Linked DNA regions of Homo sapiens: all the other regions are linked to region 5. The links are contacts of gene promoters, found by promoter capture Hi-C in blood cells and fetal thymus (Javierre and others, 2016). All regions are on one chromosome and are shown on one strand. Each heading gives the region's core, a stretch centred on a gene start or on the middle of the fragment in contact. The rest is flanking DNA. Distances are from core to core; before and after follow the strand shown. Region 1 has its middle 6.1 kb from the start of KPNA5. Region 2 has its middle 6.6 kb from the start of TSPYL1. Region 3 overlaps NT5DC1 (5'-nucleotidase domain containing 1). Region 4 overlaps ZUP1 (zinc finger containing ubiquitin peptidase 1). Region 5 holds the start of CALHM6 (calcium homeostasis modulator family member 6). Region 6 overlaps RSPH4A (radial spoke head component 4A). Region 7 overlaps NT5DC1 (5'-nucleotidase domain containing 1).

Evidence for each region. The method cuts DNA at HindIII sites, captures the fragments that hold promoters and counts their contacts. A CHiCAGO score of 5 or more calls a contact.
Region 1: a contact is called between a fragment that was not itself captured here and the fragment with the promoter of CALHM6 in region 5, in 2 of 17 cell types (monocytes and total B cells). The highest score is 8.5, in monocytes.
Region 2: a fragment that was not itself captured here is called in contact with the fragment with the promoter of CALHM6 in region 5 in 9 of 17 cell types (naive B cells, total B cells, monocytes and 6 more); the score reaches 19.0 in naive B cells.
Region 3: a contact is called between a fragment that was not itself captured here and the fragment with the promoter of CALHM6 in region 5, in 8 of 17 cell types (total B cells, naive B cells, monocytes and 5 more). The highest score is 11.4, in total B cells.
Region 4: a fragment that was not itself captured here is called in contact with the fragment with the promoter of CALHM6 in region 5 in 2 of 17 cell types (naive B cells and neutrophils); the score reaches 6.3 in naive B cells.
Region 6: a fragment that was not itself captured here is called in contact with the fragment with the promoter of CALHM6 in region 5 in 3 of 17 cell types (neutrophils, naive B cells and total B cells); the score reaches 6.0 in neutrophils.
Region 7: a fragment that was not itself captured here is called in contact with the fragment with the promoter of CALHM6 in region 5 in 4 of 17 cell types (total B cells, neutrophils, monocytes and 1 more); the score reaches 8.9 in total B cells.

Annotation. Positions count from the first base shown.
Region 1 is chr6:116,673,697-116,676,435 of GRCh38, forward strand. No RefSeq gene overlaps it. Among named protein-coding and RNA genes, the nearest start is that of KPNA5, 6.1 kb to the right of the region's middle. The HindIII fragment of the contact is 7,093 bases long and covers 1-2,739 here.
Region 2 is chr6:116,271,958-116,274,679 of GRCh38, forward strand. It overlaps a transcript of DSE not described here. Among named protein-coding and RNA genes, the nearest start is that of TSPYL1, 6.6 kb to the right of the region's middle. The HindIII fragment of the contact is 2,550 bases long and covers 7-2,556 here.
Region 3 is chr6:116,218,768-116,221,467 of GRCh38, forward strand. NT5DC1 (5'-nucleotidase domain containing 1) reads left to right here. Exons shown (of 12, transcript NM_152729.3): 7 at 2,287-2,461. Among named protein-coding and RNA genes, the nearest start is that of TSPYL4, 34 kb to the right of the region's middle. The HindIII fragment of the contact is 3,347 bases long and covers 1-2,700 here.
Region 4 is chr6:116,651,156-116,653,855 of GRCh38, forward strand. It overlaps ZUP1 (zinc finger containing ubiquitin peptidase 1), which reads right to left. Exons shown (of 10, transcript NM_145062.3): 6 at 849-1,037; 7 at 417-582. Among named protein-coding and RNA genes, the nearest start is that of ZUP1, 16 kb to the right of the region's middle. The HindIII fragment of the contact is 5,992 bases long and covers 1-2,700 here.
Region 5 is chr6:116,459,689-116,462,624 of GRCh38, forward strand. CALHM6 (calcium homeostasis modulator family member 6) reads left to right here and starts at 1,687. Exons shown (of 3, transcript NM_001010919.3): 1 at 1,687-1,741; 2 at 2,184-2,766. The coding sequence starts at 2,242. It overlaps CALHM6-AS1 (CALHM6 antisense RNA 1), which reads right to left. Exons shown (of 2, transcript NR_174951.1): 2 at 790-1,506. RefSeq lists enhancers at 2,093-2,202, 2,213-2,292 and a silencer at 2,673-2,752. The HindIII fragment of the contact is 9,761 bases long and covers 1-2,936 here.
Region 6 is chr6:116,630,695-116,633,414 of GRCh38, forward strand. RSPH4A (radial spoke head component 4A) reads left to right here. Exons shown (of 6, transcript NM_001010892.3): 6 at 1,513-2,291. The coding sequence ends at 1,747. All of the region lies in intron 1 of LOC124901386 (a long non-coding RNA gene), which reads right to left. Among named protein-coding and RNA genes, the nearest start is that of RSPH4A, 16 kb to the left of the region's middle. The HindIII fragment of the contact is 1,230 bases long and covers 665-1,894 here.
Region 7 is chr6:116,236,274-116,239,160 of GRCh38, forward strand. NT5DC1 (5'-nucleotidase domain containing 1) reads left to right here. Exons shown (of 12, transcript NM_152729.3): 9 at 693-811; 10 at 1,914-2,075; 11 at 2,682-2,850. Among named protein-coding and RNA genes, the nearest start is that of TSPYL4, 16 kb to the right of the region's middle. The HindIII fragment of the contact is 3,124 bases long and covers 1-2,872 here.

The DNA.
Region 1 (2,739 bases), core at 188-2,687, 210 kb after region 5:
AATGAGAAATTGGATTCTACATCCAACTAATAAGAGATACAGAGAGGAATAACAACAAAAACAATGGAAAATTAGTTATCAATGAAATGACATGATAATTCATGACTTAATAATAATTTCTCCTGAAACATTATTTCTTATTATTTCCCAGGAAGCTCCCACCAAAATGAGGGAAGAAGCAAAGAAAGTGGAAGGTATGGGGCCGGGCATGGTGGCTCACACCTGTAATCCTAGCACTTTGGGAGGCCGAGGCAGGCGGATTGCTTGAGCTTAGGAGTTTGAGACCAGCCTGGGCAATATGGTGAAACCCCGTCACTACCAAAAATACAAAAAATTATCCGGACGTGGTGACGTGTGCCTGTGGTCCTAGTTACTGAGGAGGCTGAGGTTGGAGGATCATTTGAGCCCAGAAGGCAGAGGTTGCAGTGATCCGAGATCACACCACTGCACTCTAGCCTGGGTGACAGATTGAGACCCCATCTCAAAAAAAAAAAAAAAAAAAAAAGAAAAGAAAAGAAAAGAAAAGAAAAAAAGAAAGTAGAACGTATGGAATTCCATAAAAAACTCTACCAAGATGAGAGAGAACAGACAGGAATGAAGGCAGAAAGGAAGAAAAAGAAAGGGAGGGAGGGAGGAAAGAGGCAACTGACAGATCACTTCATGTTTATGACCATACTGAGAGAAATATATTCTGTTAAGCAGAATAGTGTCCCTCAAAGATGTTTATGTCCTGGCCAGGCATGGTGGCTCACACGTGTAATCCCAGCACTTTGAAAGGCCAAGGTGGGAGGATTGTTTAAGGCTAGGAGTTGGTGACTAGCCTGGCCAACATAGTGAGACCCGCCCCCCCCGTCTCTAATATTAAATTTTTTTAAAAGATTCTATTTCCTTATTAACAGAACCTGTGAATATCTTACTTTTCATGGCAAAAGGAATTTGTAGATGTGATTAAGGATCTTGACAAGAGGGGTTTATCTAGGTAGGCACAATGTAATCACAAGGGTCCTCATGAGAGGGAGACAGATAGGAAGGTCAGTCTTAGAAAAGGAGATGCGATAACAGAAACAGAGGTCAGAGAGATGTAATTGCTGAAAGGGGTCCAGAAGCCAAGGAATGTAGGTAGCTTCAAGGAACTGGAAAAGGCAAGGAAATGGATTCTCCCCTATAGGCTCCAGAAGAAACACAACTTTGCTGACACCTTGATTTTAGCCCAGTGAGACCCATTTTGGACTTCTGACCTCTAAAAGTGTAAGATAATACATTTATGTTATTTTAAGTCAGCAAGTTTGTGGTAATTGGTTAGAGCAGCAACAGGAAACTAATACAGATCTCCAGCAGTGTGTTTGAAGATGAGTTAGTGATGAGTAGTTAGAAAATTAAGCAAATGATAATGACAGAAAACAGGCAATTAATTTTAGAACAATAAAAAACTATACAAGGAATGTAATTTTTACATAAAAATTTAAATATTGATTTAACCAAAATAATTTTGATAGAACTATATTGGAGGATGTGCGATCAGGAAGTATGTGTAAATGTGTATGTTGGGAGGTTAGTGCAGTTATGAGTAATAAATTCTCATTTTACATCTATAACAATAGAAAATGTCTATGACTTTACAAATTAAGAAATAGCAGTGTATGATTTTAAAATATTTAATTAGAAAAGAGATACCAATAAGAATACCTAAACAAGTTGAAAATAGTAGCTTCTGGGGAGCGGCATCTGGGGATGGTCAGGTGGGAAGTGTTAATTTTCACGATAAACTTATTATTGGACCCTTTAAATGATATATTTGTATTATTTGATTACAATAAATAAAAATTTAATTGTAAATTACTACACCTTCTGGACAGGGAATAGATTATAAAGGAGTCAAGGTAGATACAGATTGCTTAATTAGGATACTACTGCAGTTTATGAAATAAATGATGGAATGCTAGAAGAAGTGTCAGTAGAGATGGACTAGGTGTAGATGTGGACTATTTTGGAGCTAGAAGCGAAAGACAGGAGGCACTGGTAAGGGCAAGGTAAAGAATGATTCATAAGTTTTTTAACTGGAGTTTCTGGCTGCGTAGTTGTATCATTACAGAGATAAAGAGGCCTGAGAAAGAAATAAAGTGGAATGGGATAGAATAAAAAAATCTGTTTTGGCTTATTAAATTTGAGATGCCCATCAGACATCCAAATGGAGGTTTGATATATGAGTTTAGACCTCCAGGAAGAGGTCAGGGATGGAAATTTGAATTTGGGAGAAAGTGGTTTATAGGTAGATGGCTTTTAAAAATACAGGAGTATGTTGTATCACCTAGAGAGGCAATGCAGCAAAGTAAGAGGCCTGGCGCCAACATTTATAGGTTGCTTAAAGGAGGAAGACTAAATAAGGAGGATGAGAAAGAAGAGGCATGAAGCTGAAAGAAGGCCATTCATTTCTTTATCTTTGGAAAACTGAAAAAGTATGTGTGGTAGAACCTTTGGTACACTGCCCAAGTTCTGGTTCAGGACTAAAGGATTTTCTTCCCCCAATGATGAGGGCTCTAGGCCAAGTTCCACTTCAGAAACTGCACTCTGGTCAAAGGGAGCTGCTGCCTCACCCAAGATTAACCCTCCTCTCTGGATTTGATTCAGTGATATCCAAAGACTTCTTGATTCAGTGATAGAAACATGAGCCTCTAGCCTCAACAGTGACAATTCTGAAGGGCCATCCCAGCTTCTGCACTTCCTATAAGATTGTCTGAA
Region 2 (2,722 bases), core at 32-2,531, 190 kb before region 5:
TCCTCAAGCTTTACCGTTACTCCCCTCAACCTTGAGGCTACCATTCCTGGGATTTCTATCACCATAAAAAAGTTTTCTATGCTAGTGAATTTCATATACATGGAATCATATAATATATATTCCTTTGACATCTTTCACTTAACATGTCTCTGAGATTCATCCATGTTGATGATCAATAGGTTGTTCCTCTTTATTGTTGAGTGGTGTTCCATTGTATGAATATACCATAATTTGTTCATTCACTCACTTGTTGGTGAACATTTGGGCTGTTTCTAGTTTGGGGCTGTTATAAATAAAACTGCTATGACCATTCCTGTGCTACATGTAAATTATACTTTATTAAAGAAAACAACAAATACCAAGTATCTATTAAAACATCTTTGGACACTTTAAAAGAGCAAATAGTGATCAACAGAAGTAAAGCATATCACTAAGAAATCATTTCCTTTTTTGGCAAGGGAATTTCAAAGACAGACGACACCTGCTGTTATGAATTTTAAAGACCTCTTTTGTTGAATTCAGGTTAATTCCATTCTGCAAGACCACAGGGGGGAAACTATGAAATAGATATACTGAAACTCTACGATATACCAGGCTCTTTGCAATAGCTGGATGTTTATAAGGTGGCAAATTTGAATCAATTTGACAAAACTGGGAAGGGAGTATGTATTCCCTAACTTAAGGAGTTCAAGAAAAGGTAAGCCATGATTCTCAAACTCAGCTGCACTTTAGGCTGTAATTTAATTGGTTCAGGGTAGAGTCTTGGCATCAGTATTTTTTGAAAGCTCAAAGCTATATATAATGATCAGCCAGGTTTGAGAACCATGAAGCTAGATGACTATTTGTCTGAATGTAAATTAAATGAGAAATTAAAATTGAGAGGAAGACAAATGGAAATTTTAATTGATTGCATATTATATGCTAGACATGATGCTTGCTGTCTAACCTCTATATTATAACTATATTAATACTTGAAATCTCTTAGCACAGTGTCAGGCGCAAAGTAAGCTCTCAAATGTTTCTGTTGTTATCTTCTCTGTAACCTTATAATGCAGTCTCCAAATGCATCCTAAAACATTAGCTTATACTGCAAGTTTTATCATCCCTACATTATGGATAAGGAAACCAAGATTCAGAGTAGTTTATTTTGGGAAATGCAATACATGGTAATTGTAAAACCGGGATTTAATCCTAATTTAAAGCTAGTATGCCTTCTCTGCCCATCAGGTCATATCTAAGACATATAGGTGTTCACAAAAATTAGTAACTTACTTAAATGACCCTTTCCTTTTTAATTGAACCATTTCCTTTTACCTGTTCTCAAAGAAATTACCTTAAATACAAATCCTAAAAAAAGTGAAGCCAAAAAGTAGACATCCACATTTTTCCTAATGTGGCTTGATAGAAACTCTTCTATAGGTCTTGACAACCTCTGAGGTCAGAGAGAATGGATTAAGATGGCCCTTCAGAGCTCAAAGCACTTAACATGGAGAAAGTACTGCTTCCAAGTAAAACACCTCCCATAATAATAAATGCATAGAGAGCATACCTGTCACTTCTATATAGTCTAGGACTTTAATTATATAATAATGTTGAAGGAAAGGAAGTCAGTCCTGAGGGGGATGGTCAACTCCTCTCAGCCAGGCTGGTCCTCTCTGAGTTTGCTTGTGTGCAGTAGATGTTTTGAATGTGTGTATTTGCTGCAGAAAAAAAGGAAACATTCAAGGAACGGTACCCCCCTCAATGAGCCTGAGTTCCTCAAGGGCAAAGACAACCTTTACTATCCCATTCAATCCTTACTTATGCTAGTATTCAATAAACAACTACTGCAAGATTACAATTACAGACCACTAATTTTCAAAAAGTATGTTTTTTTGTTTTTTTTTTTTTTTGAGACGAAGTCTCTCTTGTCCCCAGGCTGGAGTGCCATGGCTCAATCTTGGCTCACTGCAGCCTCCACCTCTTGGGTTCAAGCGATTCTCCTGCCTCAGCCTCCCGAGTAGCTGGAATTACAGGCGCCTGCCACCACACCCAGCTAATTTTTGTAATTTTAGTAGAGACGGGGTTTCACCATGTTGGCCAGGCTGGTCTCGAACTCCTGACCTCAGGTGATCCAGCCGCCTCGGCCTCCCAAAGTGCTGGGATTTCAGGCGTGAGCCACCCTGCCCGGCTGCTTTTTCAAGTAGTACGCGTTCATTGAACTGACTTAATGCAGAGCTAGACTCAGATATTTTCCTTTTCTGTTGCTAGCCAACTGTTAAAATACGACTGAAAATATTTTCTGAACATCATGTACATTTGTAAACTAAAAATAGAGCATTTGGCCGGGCACAGTGGCTCACGCCTGTAATCCCAGCATTTTGGGAGGCCGAGGCAGGCACATCGCCTGAGGTCGGGAGTTTGAGACCAGCGTGACCAACATGGAGAAACCCCATCTCTCTACCAAAAACACAAAATTAGCCGGGCGTGGTGGCGCATGCCTATAATCCCAGCTACTGGGGAGGCTGAGGCAGGAGAATCGCTTGAACCCAGGAGGCAGAGGTTGCGGTGAGCGGAAGCTTGCCATGAGCCGAGATGGTGCCATTGCACTCCAGCCTGAGCAACAAGAGCAAAACTCTGTCTCAAAAAAAAAAAAAAGAGCATTTTACTTTAGAAAATATGCATATATTGGTCTTAAAAGTCACTAAAAATTAAACCAATATAACTGTGTCAATTTGGCATC
Region 3 (2,700 bases), core at 90-2,589, 240 kb before region 5:
TCTAAATATTATTCTCATATTGCAAAATATTATTTCTTTTGTTAGTTTTGGTCTGGTTATGATATTCATGCAATATATTTTCTGAATCATGATGCTTTAAGTTGCAAATAATAAATAACCTTAATGTTTAAGCTATTACTAAATTGAGTTATTTTACACAACCAGAGGTTGTCCAGAAGTTGAATGGTACTTCCAGTGGTGGTTAGAGTTAGTCAGTGACTTAATCAGAAATCCAGTGGTGGCCAGGCACAGTGGCTCATGCCTGTAATCACAGCACTTTCAGAGGCCCGAGGTGGGAGGATCACTTGAGCCCAGGAGTTTAAGGCTGCAGTAAGTCATGATCGTGCCACACTGCACTCCAGTCTGGCCAACAGAGCGAGACCCTGTCTCAAAAACAGAAACAAAAGCAGAAACCCAGTGATGTCATCAGGGACCCAGGTTTGTTTCCTTTCATATGTCCACTCCGCCATCTCTGGTATATCAGACTCGTGCTTTGTGTTGATGATAACCGCTGCAGTTCTACATAGAATTTATAATCATGGGAAAGTCCAGTAGTAGAAGAGGGGATATTCCCCCCTTTATAGGTTTATTTTTATCAGTGGTATACATTACTTCAGGATCCTGCAGCAAAGTTCTCCTCAGGTCTCATTTGCCATGCCTGGGTCCCCAGCACTTCCTAAACAATTCAATGACAGGAGGAGGGAATAACTGTGATAGGTGTAGACTGATAGAGACCCTTGCCCTTCCTAGCATCACAGACCCCCTCAGAGGAAGATGAAACCCGAAACAATATCAGAGCACTCCCCAGCAAAGAGGGAGATGGATGTGGGGAGGCAGACCACAATATTTGCTACCGTTTTTTGTTTTTATTTGTTCGTTTTTGTTTCACTTAAAGACTCTTCTTCCTGGCCAGGCATGGTGGCTCATGCCTGTAATCCCAGCACTTTGGGAGGCAGAGTGGGCGGATTGTGAGGTCAAGAGATCAAGACCATTAGACCATTCTGGCAAACATGGTGAAACCCCGTCTCTACTAAAAATACAGAAGTTAGCTGGGCGTGGTGGCACACGCCTGTAGTCCCAGCTACTAGGGAGGCTAAGGCAGGAGAATCACTTGAACCCGGGAGGCGGAGGTTGCAGTTAGCCAGAGATCATGCCACTGCACTCCAGCTTGGTGACAGAGTGAGACTCTGTCTCAAAAAAAAAAAAAAAAAAAAAAACAACTCTTCTTCCTGATGTCCTGATATTCTTGAAATATAACTGCCAAGTATTTCAAGTGTTTCACACTGGAGAGAGTCACGGATGTATCCCATATCTAGCTATTGCAGACTCTATCATTCAGTACAAGCTGTTTAACCTTTTTTTTTTTTTTTTTTTTTTTGTCTATGCATGTGTCCTTTTCCTAACAATTAGAGAAAGTAAAATCTTGAATCCTTTTTATCTGCTTACTAGTTCTATCATGCTCTGAGAACAGTATGTGTTATGAATCTAGTAACATTTCAACTAAATCTGCAATTGCCTGCTAAGTACCCACAACTTTAAAGGCATTGGGTCAAGCACTATGGGTAAGTCTGGTCAGGACATCTGGAAACACTGCCACCATCTGCCCTGGAGCTCAGCCAGACCCCGTGGCCACTCTAAAGGGGCAGAGCAAGCAACCCCGCTTCAGTGATGCGAGTCATTCATTGTTCCCTGTCAAATACAGTGCCTTTTGGCCTGTTCTGGCCTATTTTGCACCGATTTTTCCATTTTGATATCTCAGCACTTCTCAGAGGCTATAGAATGGCTCCCCTAGTATAGATTCCATCTGAAATAGCAAACTGTGACTCTGAGGAACTCATCGCCCTTCTTGGCTATTTATGCAAAAGATGTGATCCTGGTGCAATATCTGAGTGTTGATTTGTTTCTTGTCTGTATTCAGCAAATATTCATTGAATAATTAAAAGAGTATTTGTAACAATTGATATTTCAAATGTAAGGTTTTCTCTTACAGCATTTGAAAATGCTGATCATATTGTGTTTCTTGTGTTACCTGTTTTAACAGTTTATCAGTTCTTGTCAAATAGCCAGCGAATATTATCAACTAACATTTTCAAACAATATTGTGTTTTCAAGTAAAGAACTATTCTTAAAAAGCAAGTAGTATTGGCATAATTGCTAGGTCGGTCAAACCTTGTTCTTATCCTTTTAGTTTTATCTATAGATTTGAAAGAGATTAACTTGTTAGAGAATATATTTAGTCAAAAAATGTTTAAAAAGAAAAACCTCATTGATATTTTTATTTTTCAGAAAACTGTGGAATATATTTTCCAGAAATAAAAAGAGATCCAGGCAGATATTTACATAGTTGTCCTGAATCTGTGAAAAAATGGCTTCGACAGCTAAAGAATGCTGGGAAAATTCTTCTGTTAATTACCAGTTCTCACAGTGATTACTGTAGACTTCTCTGCGAATATATTCTTGGGTGAGTGATGAGTCATTCAGTTTTCATTGTCTTATGAAATACAGATAGCAAATTAGACCAGGGCTTTTTTAAAAGTGTCAGCCATGACCATATCATTATTTTAAACAATGCTGAGTGACAAGTTGATTTTTTTTCTCATGACATACCTCAATCTCTGCTGACAGCAGCCCAACCAAGTACATTTTAGCAAAGCAGTGTTATTGGGGACCAGTATGCTCATAGCTCACCGAATGTCCAGG
Region 4 (2,700 bases), core at 117-2,616, 190 kb after region 5:
AATGATTTTAGAAAAAATCAGCAACAAGCAATATTTACACAATTGTATAATAAAATCTGACTTTATAAAATGATGTAAACTCTGATTTTAATAAAAACCAAGATTTAATCATATCAGAAGGATTGAAGGTAAACAGGTATAAGATATTAAAACAGACTATCTGAAACTCATAAACCAAGAAACAGCTATGAAAGCATACCATTTAAAAACAATGGAAGTGACAGTTGCCTCTGAGAGACAGAACTTGAGGGTAGAGAAGAGCACAAGATAGTGAATAGGCTGCTGATTTTCATTGCTACTTAATTTAGTGCTACTTAATTTTATTTTTAAACTATCTCTTTGCTAAAAAATAAAATTTTACAAAACAAAGCTCCCCGATAAGGAAATAACATTTATTTAGGTTTTAAGGTACATACTTTACCCTTAGGGAGGTCAGGAGTATATATACTTCACATGCTCCAATCCAGGCCTTTGTTCCCTGTAACCTGTTATTAAGTTGAGAGGCCCCCTGAGGATCAAAACCTTCCTTCCATGCATCTTCAATCATAGATTGAATTTTTGGAATGCAAGGAATCAACATACCTAAAATTACACAAGCAAACATGTTACATGACTGTTAATAAAGTACTGAATAATATTTAGCAGTGTATTATGTACTCGGGGAACTTTACGGTTTTTAAGACAGTTATTCCTGACATCTTCTATCATTTTCTCTTCCTCTAACCAGAATTCAGGTTTCTTATATAAATATCCACTAACTGTTAAAGCTATTAATTGTGTATGCTATATCATTCTATATCATATGTATTTTATCAGATGACAAGTTCAGAGTACTAGATTTCACATACCTTTTAAGCAATCGTTGTAAGCATCATTTTGTAATAATGATGAAAGTAGCATTTGGAAATTTCTGTAACCACAACCCCAACCTTTGTCGCCTAAAGATGAATGAAAGTGATCCACCACTGAAGAAAGCCACACCCGTCTCACATCTGTGGCAGCATTCTGATAATACCTATGAAGTGCTTCAATAATTCCTAAAGTAGAAAAGAGATTCAGAAGCAGTCATTATCACCTTTATATTGCTATCTCATACATTTTTAATATCAACCTCTCCTTCACGCACCATACCTAAATCCTGTTAATTCCATCTTCTTCACCTTCTTCTTGCTATAACCTTAGTTTGTGTCCTTGCTTGTTACTACAGTCCAAGTTTCCTAACACTAGCATATTATTTATTACAGTTCATTGAAATTTTCTGCATCTGCAGGGCCCAGCACATAAAGTACAACTGTTGAATGAATGTTCTTCTTGTGTCTCCATTTTATTGTATAGACTACTGGAGATCACTCAGTCTTAATCAATTTGCTCCCAATCAAAAAATATTAATAGCTCCCTATTACCAATAGTTTTAATTTTTTTGTAATTTAAGATTTTATTTTGCAGATTTTGCAATTTTCGAAGCATGAGAATACACAAATGTTTTCATTTAAAAACTCTTGACTTCATGAATAATAAACATATCTCATACTCCAATACGCTAAATTTCAACCCTTTAGTAACATATTCCATTTTGCTATTTGGGGAGATTAATTAATTTGTTTGAGACAACAGAAGACAACTTTTCTTAAGGCAGAACAATAGGTTTAGGAATCTTATTAATAGCCTTATAAACCTAATTAGAATAGTTCTAATCTATGTTATATGAAGTCTACAGAAAGCTATCCACTGTCTTATCTTTATTTCACACTACTCTTCTTGCTGTAATTTTGGCTGTGGCCTAACTGAACACATTAAACATAATTTGGCCCATAGAGTTTTATTAAATTTTCAAATTCAGTATTTGCTAAGTACTTTTTAATACACCTGGCACTATCTAAATGCTAAGTACAAAAAGATAAATATGATAATATCCTTTAAAATGTCATCGACCCCAACTATAACAAGTGCTATAATATGGAAAAACAAGGTGTTAGGACAAGGGACATCTGACTCGGCCCCTTTCCTGCTTTTAGTATATTCTCCTTATGTTTCAAAATTATAGATCCTTCACATGCTACTGTCTTCATAGACCCTTTTTCTGATTCTACCCTATTTTTGTGTCCCCAAGGTACCAGCAACATTCAGTCACAGAATACTATAATTCTTTGTGTATATTTACATACTCTACAGACTCTGTGAAGCCTATGGGTAGGGAGATCTTATTATATGCCCCATAACTTTCTCATAGCATGTGGCACCAAAGACAATAACTAAATTCTTTTTGCTTGAATGAAGGGTTTCCTAGAAGAAAATGGGTTTTTGTCTTTAATAAAGACAATAAAAGATCAATAAATAAAAACAGTTAAATGAACCAATAGTTGTAGCTGTGCCTTGCACCATGAAAAGGTGAAATACTGATCACTGTAACCACTTCCAAAGAACTTAGAAAGACTTGAATTCAAGAAAAACAACAATTAAAATAGTATATAACTGAGTACTAAATGTTGTAGCATGGAATGAATGGGTACCCTAGGAATTCAGAGAAAGAAAGCTAAATGTAGATTTTAATATCATAGACTTTGATGAAGAGATCAAGATTTGAGGCAGCCCTTTAAGAATGAGGTGGAGTAGGGGACAGAAAAAATAGAAAGGAAAGTAATAAACATTCTAGTACATTTTAGTATATATGTTACATATCAGATGGAGAGCAACACTGTC
Region 5 (2,936 bases), core at 437-2,936:
GAAAACAGACCATAGGAATGAGGTGAAGGAGGAGATGGTGCTGATTAGATTGAGCCTCAGTGGATGATAAACTATTATAGCACAGTGGTAAAACCCTGGTATGGCTATCAGCAGGTAACCAGGAAAATGCCAGCCATCCCTCTTGGTTTGAGAGATGTGGGAGAATAAATTAATCTCACTCAAGAAGACAGAAGGATGCATTTTTATTAGGTTTCGGTTAGGGGAGATTTGGATAAAGCCATCTGCACAAAGGTTGTGGATATAGTGATGTTTCTGCATGATGGAATATGGGAAAGGGTGGACGAGAGAGGACACATCTTAGAGTATTATGGTAGAGGTGAAGAAGAGTCCAGCAGTAAGAGGAGAGTTACTCAAGGCACAGGGGAAGAAATTTATCTTGGGAGATGACAAATTACAAAGATAACAGTCAGAGCAGAAGTGATTCGCTTCAAACACGCAACTTTGCTGCAAGTTGACAGGAAGCCTAGCAGTATCTGGTCTAATCTCAGAGAAGAGGGCCCCAACTTTCCTGCATGACCATGAAGACCCTCATCTGGGGCTGGCCCCTAAACACATAGAAAAAAGATGTCTATTTACCACATCACTATGGAATGACAGCTTTTGGCACTACGCTAGGCACCCTGCTGGTGGTGTTGGAGAGGGAGTAGTTAAGAAGGCAAGTTGGACTAAGAAAAGAATAATACATTTCTTGTCCATTCTCTAAAAATTCACTTGGTTCCATGGGCTACCTATTCTTTCCAGATAAAATAAGGCAAGCCTGGTGGATGGGCACCAATAAGAACCATTTCATTGTGAACTGCCCACCCAAGCTCCATATCCAGATACTCTCCTTGTGGTGAAGCAGACAGCTAAGGTGTACACCAATTCTCTTAAGGTAGCAGAGTCATTGAGTCACTTAATACTATCCACTGAATTGATCCTCGTTTAAAATTCAAAATTCAGTATTCATCAAGATTCTTAGGTTATGTACAATGTAATTATTTGTTGTCTATTCCCCAAATTGCATTTTAAGGGGAAAACTCTCACACTGATCATTCATTTAACAGACATATCCTATATGTAAAGGCACTTTACATATGCTACTCAATCTACTCATGTCAGTAATCTTGAAAAGTGGGCACTATTATCCTTCTTTTACAAATAAGGATGCTGTGTCTCAGAGGGGCATACTTGTTAAACACACCACAGACAAGATGCACTTGACTTCAAAGCCCATGTTCTTTCAAGCACACCTCAGCTCAGTCTGGAGTCACACAGAGTAAGGCTCAATATCACAAAAGTGGTTACAGTGTTTGTGTCAGAACAACGCTGCTTGAGAAAACTGAAGGTGGAGGAAACAACATTAGATAGATGTAGCTGCAGTTTGAAATTTTGGGTTCAACTAGCATTCTTTGAATAATCATGTATCCCCTTCTGTGCAGATCAGCTTGGTGGTCAGAGTCAGAATTTTACTCTCCTCCAGGCATTGACAGTGTTATGACATATCTGAAAGAAAAGAACATTGTATTGACGAGTAAATCAATACAGTATATTTGGTCTAATGTCCTGAAGGAGATCAGGCAGAGGAGAGAAGAGTCAGTGTGAACTAGGCTGGTGGCTCTGTCCGGTAGGGAGATGGAAAGGGTGCCGCCCATCATAGAAGTACCAGAACTTGAGCTGGACTTTGCTGATTTAGCTTATGGAAGAGGAACCAGAAATTTGTCCTTGAATAATGTTTCCCGTAAGTAATCAGTTTTTTGATAATTATTTGGTTTTACTGTGATCTGGCTTAGTAACTAGGGTGGCTGCAATAGAGGAAAATCTGGTATTTCCCAGTTTTTCCAACTGGCGGCCGTGGGTCAAGAAGGTTAGTTTCCTGGTTCGTTGTCAGATTGGTGGTAATAAAGGAACAAGGTCAACCTTCTGTCAGAGTTCCTGAATTGGGGGAGGAAGATAACTGGTGCCTCTGCCTTTGGAATGGGGTGGGTGCCAGAGAAGTCAAGGTCCTGGGGGTGTTTGCTTGCCTGGTTCTGTTAACCAGAGGTGGTGTGGCTGAAATGAGAAAGTGAAACTTTAGGAAGGTCTGAGAAGCCCTCTTCCCTTTAAAAAAAAAAAAAAAAAGGCTGCTTCTCGCAGAGTGGAAAGCCCCGGTCCCCATCCCACCAAAACCATTTGACAAGCAGGACAACGAAGAGGCAGAAGGATCTGGGCCTGTGCGCGACGCCCCGGGGGACGAGGCTCATGGAGAAGTTTCGGGCGGTGCTGGACCTGCACGTCAAGCACCACAGCGCCTTGGGCTACGGCCTGGTGACCCTGCTGACGGCGGGCGGGGAGCGCATCTTCTCCGCCGTGGCATTCCAGTGCCCGTGCAGCGCCGCCTGGAACCTGCCCTACGGCCTGGTCTTCTTGCTGGTGCCGGCGCTCGCGCTCTTCCTCCTGGGCTACGTGCTGAGCGCACGCACGTGGCGCCTGCTCACCGGATGCTGCTCCAGCGCCCGCGCGAGTTGCGGATCGGCGCTGCGCGGCTCCCTGGTGTGCACGCAAATCAGCGCGGCCGCCGCGCTCGCGCCCCTCACCTGGGTGGCCGTGGCGCTGCTCGGGGGCGCCTTTTACGAGTGCGCGGCCACCGGGAGCGCGGCCTTCGCGCAGCGCCTGTGCCTCGGCCGCAACCGCAGCTGCGCCGCGGAGCTGCCGCTGGTGCCGTGCAACCAGGCCAAGGCGTCGGACGTGCAGGACCTCCTGAAGGATCTGAAGGCTCAGTCGCAGGTCTGCCGCTGGCGCTGGGGGCGTTTGGGAGGAGCCGAGAGGCCGAGCTTTCTCAGGGCCGCTGGGGTGAGGGAAAAATCGGTGACTTTTCTCCAGATATACAGTACCCTAAGAAAATCTAGAATGGCTCCTTGCATCTAATTTGCCGTCAAGAGAATATCTGAATAAAA
Region 6 (2,720 bases), core at 30-2,529, 170 kb after region 5:
CAGAGTCTTGCTCTGTCACCCAGGCTGGAGTGCAGTGGCATGATCTCGGCTCACTGCAACCTCCGCCTCCTGGGTTCAAGCCATTCTCCTGCCTCAGCCTTCCCAGTAGCTGGGATTACAGGCATGCACCACTATGCCCAGCTAATTTTTGTATTTTTTTTTTTTTTTTTTTTTTTAGTAGAGACAAGGTTTCACCATGTTGGCCAGGCTGGTCTTGAACTCCTAATCTCATGATCCGCCCCGCCTCAGCATCCCAAAGTGCTGGGATTACATGTTTGAGCCACCATGCCCAGCTGCTACTATCGTTTTAACTCATCTTTGGCATATTATGTGTGTGTGGCATAAAATTTATTAAAATAACATCTGTGATACACAATAAAACATCAAATTCAGGACATTAAGTAGTAATTTGGACTTTTACCCTTTCATCTTAATTATCCAATTTGTTGAAATAAAATATGGTTTTTCATCATTGATTATTTGGGTAATGACTTATTCACTTAGTAGATTAATGGAGGTATTTCTAAGCAATGTTTAGTTTAAATCTCAGATCATTTCTGGAGAGAAAGCTGAGCGGCCAGGTGTTAGAGTAGCCATTAAAGCAACAAGCTAAAAATGAGAGTTAAGCCTTTAATCATTTACTGTGATAGTATAAACAAGAGAAAGCTTTGACATCCCCCTGTTCCATTTTCCCCCATGGAATGGCCCTCTATTGGAGAGTCAGGTGGATCAGCACAGATATGGCTATCATAGATGTGGAGGTGCTGGGGTCATCTCATTGACAAGGGAATCCTCAAACGGCTCCTGCAGTTTTACAGACCTGGAGACCAAGAGGAGGATGAGAGGGCTAGAAGTGAAAAAGTGCTGAGCACAGAGAGCAGAGAAAGGAGGGGCTGGAAAGGCCTCTGCTGAAGGCCTCAGATAAAGAGACCTAGGAACGGAAGCACCTGGTCTAGGAATGCAAACATTGAAGAGCATGACGAGCCAAAGGGGCCAGCGTCCTTGACTGCAACTTCCCGTAAAGACAGCAGTGCATTGTACTCCAAGTCTGATGTGCCAGGTAAACTCTTTGTGATTGCCTATGGTCATGCCTAAAAAAAAGTAACACATAGGTTTCTAACCACAAGCCCAACTCCTTGCCCAACCAGGAGTTTGCACAGTTAGCTATTTTTATATCTTTCTAACTTTGTGGAAGGTAGTAACTTTTTTTTTTCCTCCCCTGAAAATAATTGAAGGAAGAAAGGCTTTTGCTTGTGGTCTAGGTGTAGGGTACATTTTAACAGTATCTGGCCCCATGGTTTTTTTTTTTAACCAGCTTAGGCAGTTTGGATGAAAACAATTCCCTGTGGTAGAAGAATCATTGAGGAATATTTCACTTCTAGCATTTTACATGTATTGCTTTTTTAAATTATAGGACCATGATATTCTAAGCACTTTAATATTACAGAAGGGTCAGTTTTTCTGAGAAATTATATAATGATCTTTTTTTCTTCTTCTTTTTCTTACTTATAGAAAGTTTGAAAATTTCTACATAGGCTGGGGTCATAAGTATAGTCCAGACAATTATACACCCCCAGTTCCACCACCAGTTTATCAAGAATACCCCAGTGGACCAGAAATTACAGAAATGGATGATCCTAGTGTGGAGGAGGAGCAGGCTTTCAGGGCTGCACAAGAAGCAGTTCTACTCGCAGCTGAGAATGAAGAATCTGAGGAAGATGAAGATGAGGAAGATGATTATGACTAATAAACATAAAATTAGCCTGGTTTTATGTGACACTGATACACACACACCCCTTATATGGGACTAATTTTACACTTTTCTGTGTTATGTGTGTATATACATACACATGTAAGAAATTATTCAACTGCAAAATCTCAATCTTGAAAATCAAGCTTGAAATTTCATAGGTAGAAATATTAGCATTTTTATTGAAAGATACTCACAGGATTTTCCAGAGGCTAAATAACATGCAATTGCATAATTGTTCTGAGGGTTATGGATAATGGAATATGTGTTTGTACATTCCTGTTTTTAAAAGGGCTCAGGTTTCACATGGTCCAGGTGAGGTAAAACAATTAAAATAAATAAATAAATGGTCTCAGGTTTAATTTGTAATACGACAAACACTGGAAGATATAACCCACAGGAAATTCTTGGAAACATCAATACTTTTTAAAGAGTGTCAAGGGGTATGAAGACAAAAAATATTGATAGTCACTAGAGTAATGTATTCTTAACCTTTGTAAGAACTGATCTCAGCATGTATTCTTAAACCTTTGTAATTACCTATGGTGTGGACTGTGATATTGTGTGCAAACACTTTATAGCATATATATTCATTTTTCCTGCTTGAGATAGTATCATAATTCTGTCACCTGCTTAAAACTGTAGGAACACTCAATTTTTTTTTTTCTTTTTTTTTTTTTTTGAGACGGAGTCTCTGTCACCAGGCTAGAGTGCAGTAGTGTGATCTCGGCTCACTGCCACCTCTGCCTCCCGGGTTCAAGTGTTTCTCCTGCCTCAGCCTCCTGAGTAGCTGGGACTACAGGTGCACGCCACTACACCTGGCTTTTTTTGTATTTTTAGTAGAGACGGGGTTTCACTATGTTAGCCAGGCTGGTAAATTTTTAACTCTTTTGTTACTTCTCAAAAAGTCTTCTCAGACTCCTCTTTCATCCTACAGAAATTGATTTGAACTGATTAGGGAAAAATGATT
Region 7 (2,887 bases), core at 61-2,560, 220 kb before region 5:
ATCATGCTGGTAGGCAGATTCTCTTCAGCTTTTCAGCTCACGTACAAGTAATAGAATAGCCGGCAAAATTCAGAGAGGCAAAGACATTTACCTCTTTCACTAGCCCTGCTTTAACAGGAGTAGGAAGGTAATGTGCTGGGAGAGGACAACTTGGAATGGTCCACAAACTTGTGCTTTGGCATCAGATAGTCCTTTCATTCCCCACCCACCCCAAGCTGGTACTAGGGTAAAGCATTTGAGGCACCAAGGGTGCAAAATTTACATCTGAATCTGATAGACTACTAATTAAAAACTTACCTTCCTCACCCTCAATTCTAAAAAATTAACACCTAATGACTTTCATTGTGTTATTTATTTGGTAAACCGTTTTGTAGCAGTAGGGGCATGATGTCAAGCAGAGGCATGATGTCAAGCAGATGTCTGTCTAATCACTGAATAAATCACTTACCAGCATTGAGATCCTGGGCAAAATAACTTCCTTGAACCTTATTTTCCCCAATTAAGAAGGCCACGGGATTAAAAAGTATATACCTATAAGGGCCTTATAATATGTAGGTACCACTGAATGTCAGCTCCTTTCCCCACAAGGTTCTTGTTTGTACATGTCCTGTAGCCATGCCCTAAGTGTGGTCTGCCCAACTGGCTACTCTCACTTGATTAAAAAGTATATGATTGTCAAACTGTATTTTCAGAGAATGATGAGGAGCAGGAGGCACTGCCATCTCTGGATAAACCTGGCTGGTACTCCCAAGGGAACGCTGTCCACCTCTATGAACTTCTGAAGAAAATGACTGGCAAACCTGAACCCAAGGTATTTCCCAGTTGAGGAGAAGTCCTCAGTGCCCACTTGCAGACATAAGCAGTTGTGAACTGCCAAATCTCTCCTCTTAATTCTTCTGCTTAAATAAGCCTTTCCTTTGTCAATGTAGACAGGCTGTCTATCTGTGATAGAGAGGAGCAAGGATTCCAAGCAGGGCACCACAGATTTAGGGGGTGTATGAGTGTGTAGGATGCCTGTGGAATGTTATCCTGATAACAATCTATCCAAAAAGTTTCCATATATAAAACAAACAACTGAAATTATGCTACAGACTAGCTTAAAGATACACTTGTTTTTGACAGAATGATCACATTGTTGATGTTGGACATTGGTGCATTTCTAACAGCAGAACCCTTTCTTCTAAGAAAATATTTACCAGAATTTCTGTGAGCTGAGAGATCGTGGGGTAACAGAGCCCTGCTCCATTGGCTGTCACCATGCCACAGTCTCCTGGGGACTCCTGAGGGTTAATGGATGGAGCAGTCTGACTTGCAGATGCTGATTCTCATATCCCTTAACTCTGTTTTCACATCTGAAAATTGAGAGGTATGGACTCAATCAATGGAGTCCTCAGACTCCATTGCCTCAGACTACCTAGGGAACTTTCCAGATTCAACATGCCCAGCCCCACTCTCACAGATTCTGTTTCAACCAGTCTGGGGTTGGGCCCAGAAACTTGAAAAGTGGTTGTGATTTGCACTTTTAATAATCTCTAATCCACTATAACAAGTTGTCTCTAATACCTCACCAGCTCTTCAACTGCAGGGGCCATTTTATTAATAATTGTAAACATCTATGTAAACATATAGGTTCACTTCTTTAGGAAAATTGAATAAAATCACTTATTTCACCTTATGCTGTCTTCCACCTGTGAATGTGTTGTATAACTTCTTAAGACAAATCTGGCACCCTGTGAATCAAATGAGACAAGTTGATGGTCACCTGTGAGATTATTCAAATAAGTGAAGATGTTTATGCAATTTTTGATTGTCATACTCTGATGCCTGTTGAGAAATTTTCTTCTTCCTTATATGAAATAAATGCCACTTTCACAATTCTGTGCCTCAAACAGCATCTGCTATCTGTCTTACAGGTTGTTTATTTTGGTGACAGCATGCATTCAGATATTTTCCCAGCTCGTCACTATAGTAATTGGGAGACAGTCCTCATCCTGGAAGAACTCAGAGGGGATGAAGGCACGAGGAGTCAGAGGCCTGAGGAGTCAGAGCCTCTAGAGAAGAAAGGAAAATATGAGGTAAGGGTTCCCTGCAGCTCTTTCCTTGAAAGACAAATATTTATGTTTGAAAGCTAAAGTATCTTTATACTACTTGACTCCAAAATTGTCCTGGTCAGGCTGAATACCATCATGTTAAAAAAAAAAAAAAAAAAAAGAGACTAATAATTTGAAACTTTGTATTAATTTTATTGACTTCATGTTCCATTTGTATTGAAAGCAATAAATAATAATTCCATCCTCATTCCTTTCTAAAAAATAAATACTAAATATGAAAATTAGACCAAGTTGTTTTTTAACTACCCTTTAGACATCATCATCATCATAATAGAATAGAGAGTTATTTTTATTATAGGGAAAAAATTATGTTTTCTAGGTTGCTTTGTTTGGGCTAGTTTTCAGATAATAACCAATTGACCATATAAAAAGCTAGTTTGTGTTTAAAATAAAGGATACTTCATAATAAGGAGGAAATATTATTCCTGTTCCAAAAATTTAATGTGGGCCCAAAGCCTATTTGTAGATTCCTACAGGGTTTCAAAGTTTTTATTTACTTAATAGACAAAAAAATTATGAGATTGAACATTAGTTAATCACCATTTTAATTATTCTGTTCTCTTGTTTCAGGGACCAAAAGCAAAACCTTTAAATACTTCATCTAAAAAATGGGGCTCTTTTTTTATTGATTCAGTTTTGGGACTGGAAAATACAGAAGACTCCTTGGTTTATACATGGTCTTGTAAGAGAATCAGTACTTACAGCACTATTGCAATTCCAAGTATTGAAGCAATCGCAGGTAAGGGGGAAAATACCTATAAAGCTTCACCTGTTAC